Linked DNA regions of Homo sapiens: region 1 is linked to region 2. Evidence: promoter capture Hi-C in 16 types of primary human blood cells and fetal thymus (Javierre and others, 2016). All regions are on one chromosome and are shown on one strand. The core of a region is centred on a gene start or on the middle of the fragment in contact, and the rest is flanking DNA. Distances in the headings are between cores, read along the strand shown.

Region 1 (4,949 bases), core at 477-2,976, 160 kb before region 2:
CTGGGTATATACCCAAAGGACTATAAATCATGCTGCTATAAAGACACATGCACACGTATGTTTATTGCGGCATTATTCACAATAGCAAAGACTTGGAACCAACCCAAATGTCCAACAATGATAGACTGGATCAAGAAAATGTGGCACATATACACCATGGAATACTATGCAGCCATAAAAAATGATGAGTTCATGTCCTTTGTAGGGACATGGATGAAATTGGAAACCATCATTCTCAGTAAACTATCGCAAGAACAAAAAACCAAATACCGCATATTCTCACTCATAGGTGGGAATTGAACAATGAGATCACATGGACACAGGAAGGGGAATATCACACTCTGGGGACTGTGGTGGGGAGGGGGGAGGGGGGAGGGATAGCATTGGGAGATATACCTAATGCTAGATGACGAGTTAGTGGGTGCAGCGCACCAGCATGGCACATGTATACATATGTAACTAACCTGCACAACGTGCACATGTACCCTAAAACTTAAAGTATAATTAAAAAAAAAATAATAATAATAATAAATATTTTATCAAGGCACATGTTGGATATTTGCCCAATATAAGTTGTTGGTCTTTTCATCAGATCACTGTCTGAAAACACCAGCTCTCTTGCGCCTTCTCTTGTTTATGTACACGTTGGCTCTAGCGTCACTGTTACAATCTCTCTTTATTGTCCTTTCTTCACTAGGTCACACTGCCCTGCATGTGCTCCCCTGCTGCATATACACATTGTGACTAAATATCATTTAGTCTTGTTTTCACATCTGTCTTAAATGTCTAAATCCCCAACTTAACTCTTTCTCATTTAACCTTTTTATAGGTAGAATTGTTTCCCGTATAGAGTTCACTTTTCTTCTCTAGGGGAAGGTAACTTTTTTGAGCTTCCTATTTATAGTCATTAAGGTTCAAAATTTATAGCATTAGATGCTAGCTTGCAGAAAAATGGAAGGGAGGTGAATGATTTTTGCCTGGTTGAAGTGAAAATGCTTCTGTCTGGTAGAGGAGGGAACCCCAAGAGTGATGGTTTTATTGCTATGTAGGGCATTAACTAGTTTCATATCTAATTTAGCAATCTCATTCCCCTGTTCTCTTTTTATCACTGACTCTCTATATATATCATTTCCTTGTGTCATCCTTTGAGCCAGTTTTTTTCATCCTGCCTTCTCTCATTAATGAATTATGTAAATCTTTTGACACATGCTCCTTATATATTTATATGAAAGTTACATTTTTAGCATTTTGAAATTATACTTTGACACCCCCAAATGTGACTGAGATTGAGTTTCTCACCACTCCGGAGAGTCGTCAAAGCTGGATTATTCTGAGTTAGAAAAATGAAGTAGTCTGGAATTCTTGCTCCTGAGTGTGGTGGTTTAAGGACCAGTTTTAAGAGTGGGAAATTATCGGGCCAGGGAGCCGCCCCTAAATCTCTCTCGAGGGCAATGTTTAAAGCTTAAAAAAATAAAATGGAGTGGGTGGGATGGTGTTCCACTGTGCAGTGCATATTACATATTTATTCATTTATCCAATCAATTTACTCACCCACCACACGTTTATTGAGCATCTACTATTTGCTAGGCACCGTTCTAGAATCTAAACGATGGTTTTGGGAAGACAGAAGTGAAAGTTCTGTTCTCCAGAAATCCCCAGAGTAATGTGGTGGGTAGAGGCCTAAGAGGTCAGTGATGTAAGCATGGTGGTCAGTGCATAGAGGGTTATGAGAACAACATGGTGTGGGTGAGAGCATGGGGATCATGGGAGCCTGCAGCACTGGCTCCTGACACATCCTGAGAGGTGGCTCCAACTGAGTCTTAATGTAGGAGTAGGACTTAGCCACATATGAAACTGAGAAAAGACCATTCTGGGCAGAAAAGCATTGAAGAAAGGATGGAAGAGAAAACATCTTTGGATGTGTGGATGTGTACGGAGGTCCTTGTCCCCAGAGCATCAGGTGTGATCAAGGAGTGGCATGTGCTCCATAAATAAGCTTTTATTTATGGTTAATTTTAGGTGTCAACTTGACAGGGCTTGGAATGCCCATATAGCCAGTTAAACATTATTTCTGGGTGTGTTTTGAGAGTGTTTTCAGATGAGAGTAACATCTGAATTGGTGGGCTGAATAAAGCAGATCATACTTCCCAAGGTGGGTGGGCCTTATCCAACCCCTTGAAGGCCTAAGTAGAACAGAATGGCAGAGGAAGGTCGCATTCTTTCTCTTTGCCTAACTGCTGAGCTGACACATTTGTCTTCTCCTACCCTTAGGCTGGGACTTGCACCACCAGAGTGGCTGGTTCTCAGGTCTTTTGACTAAAGTTTACACCCTTGGCTTTCCTGGGTAAGGAGGAAAACTTGCAGATGGCAGACCATGGAACTTCTTAGTCTTTATCATCATGTGAACCAATTCCTTATAATAAATCTCATTTGAGAATCTATCTATCTATCCTCCCTCCTATTGATTCTGTTTCTTTGGAGAACTCCAACTAATACAACTTGTATTCTTAATTGATGTTCTCCTCTACCTCTACCATGTGCTCTTTTTTTTTTTTTCCTTCTATCTTGTGGACATTCCTCTCTGCCAATGGAAGGGAGGGAATGAGAACAATTCTTCTCTTTTCTAATGGCAATTAGGGAAGAGTTAGCATCTTCTTTGAGGGGAAAGAATCAGAAAACAAGCAGCAGCACATTTCTGGTTTCACCTTCAAAGGTCTCTTACACAGAAGAAGAGTTTTCAAGAATTACATGAGCATATTTCCCAGCCCCTCATATTGGAAATAATTTTCATGACTTTGGGGAAAATAACTTGAGTTTCCAGCTCAATTCTCTAGTTCCAGAAATCACAAGGGAACCAGTTTCAATTAACATGTCTAGTTGTCTACTGAGGAGGCCAATGAGGACTGCCGCCAAGAGGCAGTTGGCTGCAGGGACTCCGTTCCCCCAAACTTGGCTCAGCATCCAGCTGACACCCATGGACAACCCACTTTCAATGGCCCAGAACTCTGGAGGCCCACTATATAACAGATGGTGGGGCTGGGGTGGTGAGGGGTGAGGTGGTGTGAGGCTGAGAACTCCTGCACCTGGGCAAGTTGGGAGGAGAAAGAGCCGGCTGAGATCACTCCTCAAGTGGAATAGGATGGATTGACTTCTTTGATTACAGCTAGCACCAGTGTCTGCAGTCTACAGGAAGGGTGCTGCATGTCTCCCACATGTCCAGACGGAGGCAGTGAGAGGAGGAGGGAAGCTGTGCCTCTCTGGATGGGATTTCAGCAGGTTGGAGAGTGCAGGTCTTTTGGGTGTCATGTGTGGTCATTCCAAGTTGCCTCTTTAGGTTCCGTATCAGTTGGGAATTGAGTATGTCTATGTATTAGTTATTTATGACTGTATAATAAATTTAGTGCCTTAAAACAACAATAAACATTTATTATCTCACACAGTTATTATGAATCAAAAGTTTGGGAGCAGCTTACTTGGTGGTTCTGACTCAAGGTCTCCAGTGGGATTGTGCTCAAGATGTTACTGGGGTTTCAGTTGTCTGAGAGCTTCATGAGCCAGGGGCTCTGCTTCCAAGTGTTCATTCACAGGGCTGGCAAGTTGATGCTGACTATTGGCAGGAGGCCTTGATTCTTGGCCATGTGGACTTTTCTGTAGGGCTGCTTGCGTGTCCTCATGACCTGGCAGTTGCCTTCCCCTAGAGTGAGTGATCCAGGAGAAAGCAAGGCAGAACCCACCATGTCTTTTATGACCTAGAAATCACAAATTGTCATTTTCTTAATATCCTATTGGTTACACAGGTCAGTTCTATTCAACATGTGGAAGGGCTATACAAGAGCACAAATCCTCCCAGTGGTCCCAGTGAGGACCACTGGGAGCCACCTTGGAGGCTGGCTACCAAACTCCCCTAATAACAGGCCTGAAACAAGTGATAGGGCTTTATTTTTCTCCTACATAAAATAAGTCTGGAGGTGGAGATCGCTACCACAGGCACCTTTTATCTCTCTGTGCTCTCATCCTTAGGGTTGCCTCATGCTTCCAAGATGGCCTCAGCAGCTCCTGTCCTCATGTCTGAGTTCCAATTAGCAAAGGAAGGAGGAAATGCAAAAGGGCTTCCCAGATGAATCTGCTGTTTCTTTAAGGAGCTTTCCCAAATGCCTCATTCAGTAGCTTATGCCTATATATTATTGGCCAGAATTTAGTTCTGTGGCCATCCTTATCTATAGGGTAGGCTGCAGAATATAGTTTTTCTTCTGGTCACATTGAAACCCTGAGTACCAGGCTTTTGTTGGTGAGGAAGAAAGGGAAAATGGATTTGGGGAAGGCTCCCATTCTGCTCCCACCCCTTATCTAGGTCTTAAGACATCATGAGTCCCCTCCCACTGACATCCCTCCCACCCTTACGGTCCCTGCTACAGACTTGGAGCCCAAAAATGCTCACTCAGCTCCCTACGTTCATTCAGCTGGCTATGGTTTGGTTGTGACCTGGCAAGGAGGTTGTCTTCTAGAATCATCTATGGTTAGGCTTCTAAGCTGTAAAACCTGGGGGTTAGAAGTTACATCATTTAATCCTCATGACATCTCCATAATGTAGGTAGTATTATCCTCATTCTCCAAATTAGGAAAGAGATCCACAACTGGTAAGTGTGAACCAGGGCTTGAACCCGGTCCTGTCTGGCTCCAGAATAAGTGCTGTTTCCACGACATTACTTCCCATGGACTGGGAGGGCTATTTCAGGCGAGGTAATGGCAGTAATAAAAGGACCTTAACAAGCTGTTGATAAAGGGTGTGGTTTGCTTGTTCAGAGTGGAGTTCATCAGTTAAGTAGACTTTTACGATAGTCTATTTTTCCAGGATGTAATATATTTATACTAGGCTTTTGCACAGATTCCCCTTGCTCCTTCTTTAAGGGAAATCCATTGGTTTGCTCTGATTATGTTGCAGGCCCATA
Region 2 (5,383 bases), core at 1-2,500:
GCTCATTGGCGGGGAGGCACCTCTTCCTTGAGTTATTGGGCTATGGAAACAGCAATCCTGCCTTCTGGTTGGGTCTCCCAAATGGGAGACATCCAAACAGAGTGATTTTTTTTTTTTCTTAAACAATGTCAAACCCGAGGTTCTTAACATGGGGCTTGAAGATTGCTGTCTACGTTAGTTTCCCATAGGTCCTGGGGCCCCAGGGAAGCAGAGCCATTCTAGGAGAAGCTGAGAAAGATCTTGAGTGAAGAGGTTCTCTGAGGAGACTCAAAAGTGACTCTGCATTTGGTTGACAGTGACCCTCGAGGCAGAGCAGGTATTGGGCAACATAAAAGTTGTGAGGAGTAAATGAGAGGCATGGGAAAACATGTTTTCCTAGGGCTAGGTAAGAACCCAACCATGGCCCAGCTCTCCAACCCTTAGGCCAGAAAGCACCTCCTCATGGTCTTGGGACATGCTCAAAGCCTCCCAGCTGAGTAGCAACAGAGTGGCTTTAGAACTAGGTCTCCTGATTCCTGGGGTTTTTTTCCTCACCATCCTGCCATTTTCCAGATATGGATCTCATCGGAGAGTTCCTGACTTGTCAAATCCTGGAACTCTCCTTTCAAGGACGAGTCCTGTTGGCCAGGCAGTCCTGGGCTTTTCTGGTTCTGATGGGTGGCCTTTTTTGCCTTCCAGTGCCAAGTGTCTCCTTGCCCCTATCCATCCCCTTCCTGGGAAAGATCATCTGGGGTCTTCAGTGGCCTCGTGGAGCCTCATGGCCATGGTGGGGAGTGATGCGCAGCCTGGTGCTCGGGCCAGGACCAGACCTCCCATGGACAGTGGGCACGTGCCTTAGCATCTGGGCATGCTGATCTTTTTCTCCAAGAGGGCAGTGTGGGGGTAGAAGGGGGTGGAATCCGGAGACTTCTCTCCATAAGAATTCCTGCTCTCCCCCTCAGTCTGACCCTTGCTTTGCCTGTCTGGGCCACGGCAATGCCCTCAGGCAGAGCAGTGGGAAGAGGAGGAGAGGGTTTGCTCAGCTGGCGGGACTCTGGGAGCACGAGCCCTGCCAGCCCCTCCTCCGCAGGCTGCCTCCACTGGCTCCTCTCCTGCTTCTGCCCGCCTGTCCCTCTGGGCTGCTCGGGCGCCACCACTACTGTCCCCATCCCGCCCCGCCAGCTGGGCCAAAGGGTGACTTGACTCACGACGCTGCCACCAGCCCACGGCTTGCCCGAGGCGTATAAAGGCTGCCAGGGCCGCAGGCTGCCAAGCCCTGCCCTGCCCAAGGCGCATAGAGCATGGCCCGAGGCGCTGAGGGAGGCCGTGGGGACGCGGGTTGGGGCCTGCGTGGCGCCCTGGCGGCCGTGGCGCTGCTCTCGGCGCTCAACGCTGCGGGCACGGTGTTCGCGCTGTGCCAGTGGCGCGGGCTGAGCTCGGCGCTGCGGGCTTTGGAGGCGCAGCGGGGCCGGGAGCAGCGCGAGGACAGTGCCCTGCGCTCCTTCCTGGCCGAGTTGAGCCGCGCGCCGCGCGGGGCGTCCGCACCACCCCAAGACCCGGCCAGCTCAGCTCGCAACAAGCGCAGCCACAGCGGCGAGCCCGCGCCGCATATCCGCGCCGAGAGCCATGACATGCTGATGATGATGACCTACTCCATGGTGCCGGTAGGCGGGGTCTCTGTTCCCCGTGGCGCCCCGGCCAGGTGGGCGGCTGGGGGTGTGGGGCGAGGACGCCGACGCCCTCTTCTCCCCTGGCCAGGCTGCGAGGTGCTGCGGAGAGGGCTGTGGGCATGAGTAGCTGGGGATGTCACCTTGGCAAGCACCTCAACCCACTGGAGTCTGTTTTCTCATCTGTGAGGTTGGGGACAGGGTGAAGGAGGGAGTCTCTTCTACCTCTGACATTCTTTGAGTCCACATGTAAACGAAGGGCGAAGGCAGTGTTTCTAAGAGCCTATTTTCCTTCTCAGCTTAGACAAGTTTTCGTCTCCTGGTGTGAATGGAGCCGCAGCAGCCTTGGGGCTCCGCCTGTGCCACTGACCTGTGGGTGGGGCCCTCTGAGAGGATGGAGGCGCGTTTCTGAAAGAGCGTAGGCTTTTTCAATAAAGGGATTCTTTCCCTGGCATCAACTAGTGGTCTGGCTTTTCACCTGGCATCGCCTCATTCCTGCGAGATGGCCGGCCTAATTGTTTCCGTTTAAGTGAAAACAGCCCTAGTTTTACTGCCCACCTGGGACCTAGATGCTGGGAAAGTTGCCCCTGGATCTCAAGCAATTCCAAATGAGGGACGTCAATATGGTGCAATTTTTTTCTTAAAATGCAGTGTCAAAGCTGAGGTTCTTAACATGGGACCTGCGGATTGGTCTCCCCACTGGGCTCCAGGGAGTACACGGAACTGCAGAAATTGCCAAGTGTGTGTGCCTGTGCCCTCCTGCCCATGTGGATGAGGGTCTGCAGCTTTTCACTAGATCTTCAAGGGGTCCCCCATTGCATGCCTCCCCCAAAAGGTTTAAGAAACACTGCTCTGAAGAAAGTCTTCAAAGCCTCAAAGATTTGTTTTCCAGTGTTAAGTTTCTTTGCTTTTGCCGCTTTTAATTCAATAGGTATTTAACAAATACTATTAGATCACATTGCAGTTCCCCATTCCATTTCATTATTTATTACAATTGCAACAGTCTTGTTTCACTTTATAATTAGAAAGATTTCGGCTATTACCTCCAGTCAAGTGTGAGCCATACTTCAGAATCCTAGGTATTTGAAAATAAATTGACTTAAACTTCCGTTATCACAGAAGCTTTTAAATAACTTACATGAGCTGAAATGCTTTTAAAACTACGTAAAAGTACTACATACTTCAAATACATCTTTTGAGAGAGATCAAGTTTTCCATTCCTCACTTCATTTGTTTTTTAAATTCATGTTATCATTTAAAAATCTGGACCTAAGCAGAAGTTTCAAAAAAGGACTGCTATAAGATGAAAAAAACCTCCTTAGGGGAATTCATTCTCGCCCTTTCAGCTCTCTACCCTACATTTTAAGGCTTTTAAAAAATCCTCAAAAAGGGATACATCTGAGCATCATTGTTTTACATTTTTAATCCTGCTTTTAAGGTAGAAGCTTTCGTATCCGAATTGCAACCTATTCCGTCACTAACAAATTGAATGGAGACACTCATCTCTGTGTCAAATTAACTCTAGGTGACCTCGCAGTGCTACCACTAACTCTGTTACAGGTCAGAGAGCAGAACTATCACATGTGTCAGACTGGATATTATTAGTAGATTATCATCAACTAACTCATCCCCCACCTGCAATGGGTATGTTTTGACCTTTTAGAGTCATGAGGGCCTGTCCCTGAGGCTAGGAGAAGGCAATCATCTTACTACTCACTTTCCTCTTGGGAGCAGTTCTCAAACAGTAGGCTTAGGAATCAGCTGGAAGCATATTACAGTGCAGATTCCAGGGCCTCTCCCTCAGACCTATAGAATCCTCTCCAGAATCTGCTTTATTAGAAGTCCTCTGACCCTCATCCCCCCACCTCCTATGCCATTGGTGAGTTCGGTGCAGATGGTCCAGGCACCACACTTTAAGAAATACTACTCAGTCTCTAACACTGAGTCTTTATTGTGCACAGGAATATCTTGGGGATCTTGTTAATATGCAGATTCTGATTCAGATGGTCTAAGCTGGGGCCTAAGATTCTGCGTTTCTACCAAGCTCCCACTGCTACCAATGCTACTGGCCTGAAGACCACATTTTGAGTAGTAAGGTTGCCTACTGGAACTATTTGGGGAGCTTTCAAACTTACTGATGCCTGAATCCCATCCCCAGAGATTCTGAATTAATTTGTTAGGCCACAGCCTGGGGATGGAGTGCTTATTCTCCAGCAGGAAGGACCTTGGCATAACTTCCTATCGATAGTAGCTGTGTTAGGCATCACACTCCCACCAGACCCCATCAAGGCCTTTGCTTCAGGACGAGGAGCCAATTTTATTACTGAAAAGCTTTTTAATTTATGACAGCAATATTCTTTCCATTCAGCTTCACAGTTTTCCTCATCTTTACTCTCTGCTTTTCTCAGAACAATTATTCATATAAGAAAACAATTTTATAAAAAACATCATTTGGTAGCTCTTGGAGAGAAGTTAAGAGAATGATCTAGTATATATCGTGGAGGCAAGTGTATACACTTCTTATAGGTGAAGGCTACACCTTCCCTGGCCCTTTTATACACCACCAGATCTTGAATGAGAGTGAGATCCAAGGTCCTCACTGTGAGGTCTTATGTCCTTAGAGGTCTAGGAACGAAGAAACAAACTCTATGCAGACTAATGTCAACATTTCAAAAAGCCTTCCAGAATGGTTCATTTATCCAAGATGAACCTCAATTTAACTGATACTTTGAGTTTCTCTACTGTTGGCTGAAAATACATCAACTCAGCATAAGAATTCTGTTTAGCTGAGCACATTCTTACCAGAACCTGGTTGGCAGCTGTAAATGACTTCATTAAAAAGGCAAGATAATTATTAAGTACAGTTAATTTGACACAGCCAAGAAGCACATTAAATCTTTAAAACCATGTGCATACTTTTGGGAGACAGTAATAAGAGGAGCCCTGGATGGGGCTTGGAAACTACTGAATTAGGCCAATAAGGAAATGGGGATCTGGTGAGCGGGGAGAGAGAAAATTTGACCCATCTGCTACTAACTCCTGTGGGAGATGCTACTTCTGTTTACTCTCTTTTTCTCTGACCTCCTCTCATATTCTTTTTGTTCTCTTCCCATCAGCTACCCTCTCTCATTCCTCTCTTCCTGTCTCACATTTGCTGATGTTCTGGTAGCTTTATCATCCTGTCTTTACTTGTCCAAAATCTAGGGTCAAGCACCCAGAGGGAGTTTCATAAATATTTTCATAAATTAAACAAACATAGAGAAGATATAAGACACTGAGACTGGTGATTACGTATCCATGATAATTGTTGTCCTTGAGGGACTGTATGCATTTCTACGCCCAGGATATTGTTCAAAATGTCCTTGGCACCTCTCTAACAAGAAAATCAGCCTGGCTACTTTAAAGCAGGAGTTACAATTCAAATGTTCTTTTAAGGAAGGCAAATATGATTCCATAATAGTCAAATGATGAAAAGGCATTTGATAAAATTTAACATCAATGCTTGATTTTTAAAACATGCAATAAAATGGGAATCAATGTATTCTTTCTTAACATGATAAAATGTAATTGTGTCTCACCCCCAAAACTATAGCTTTCCACTGAACTGTCAAATCCTGGAGATGGTCCTACTAAAATCAGTATTAAGACAGGGATGCCCACTATCACCAATAGTATCTCGAATTGTCCTAGGAGGACCAGCCAGAGCAACAAGACAAGGGAAAATGGTCTAAATATGT

Evidence for each region. Contacts are between HindIII fragments. The CHiCAGO score rates a contact against its expected background, and 5 or more counts as called.
Region 1: a fragment that was not itself captured here is called in contact with the fragment with the promoter of GLDN in region 2 in 1 of 17 cell types (M1 macrophages); the score reaches 6.3 in M1 macrophages.

What each region holds. Positions count from the first base shown.
Region 1 is chr15:51,178,494-51,183,442 of GRCh38, forward strand. All of the region lies in intron 1 of MIR4713HG (MIR4713 host gene), which reads left to right. Among named protein-coding and RNA genes, the nearest start is that of MIR4713, 61 kb to the right of the region's middle. The HindIII fragment of the contact is 535 bases long and covers 1,460-1,994 here.
Region 2 is chr15:51,340,405-51,345,787 of GRCh38, forward strand. It overlaps GLDN (gliomedin), which reads left to right and starts at 1,251. Exons shown (of 10, transcript NM_181789.4): 1 at 1,251-1,643. The coding sequence starts at 1,281. RefSeq lists an enhancer at 239-602 and cis regulatory regions at 292-335, 408-432. The HindIII fragment of the contact is 3,655 bases long and covers 1-2,766 here.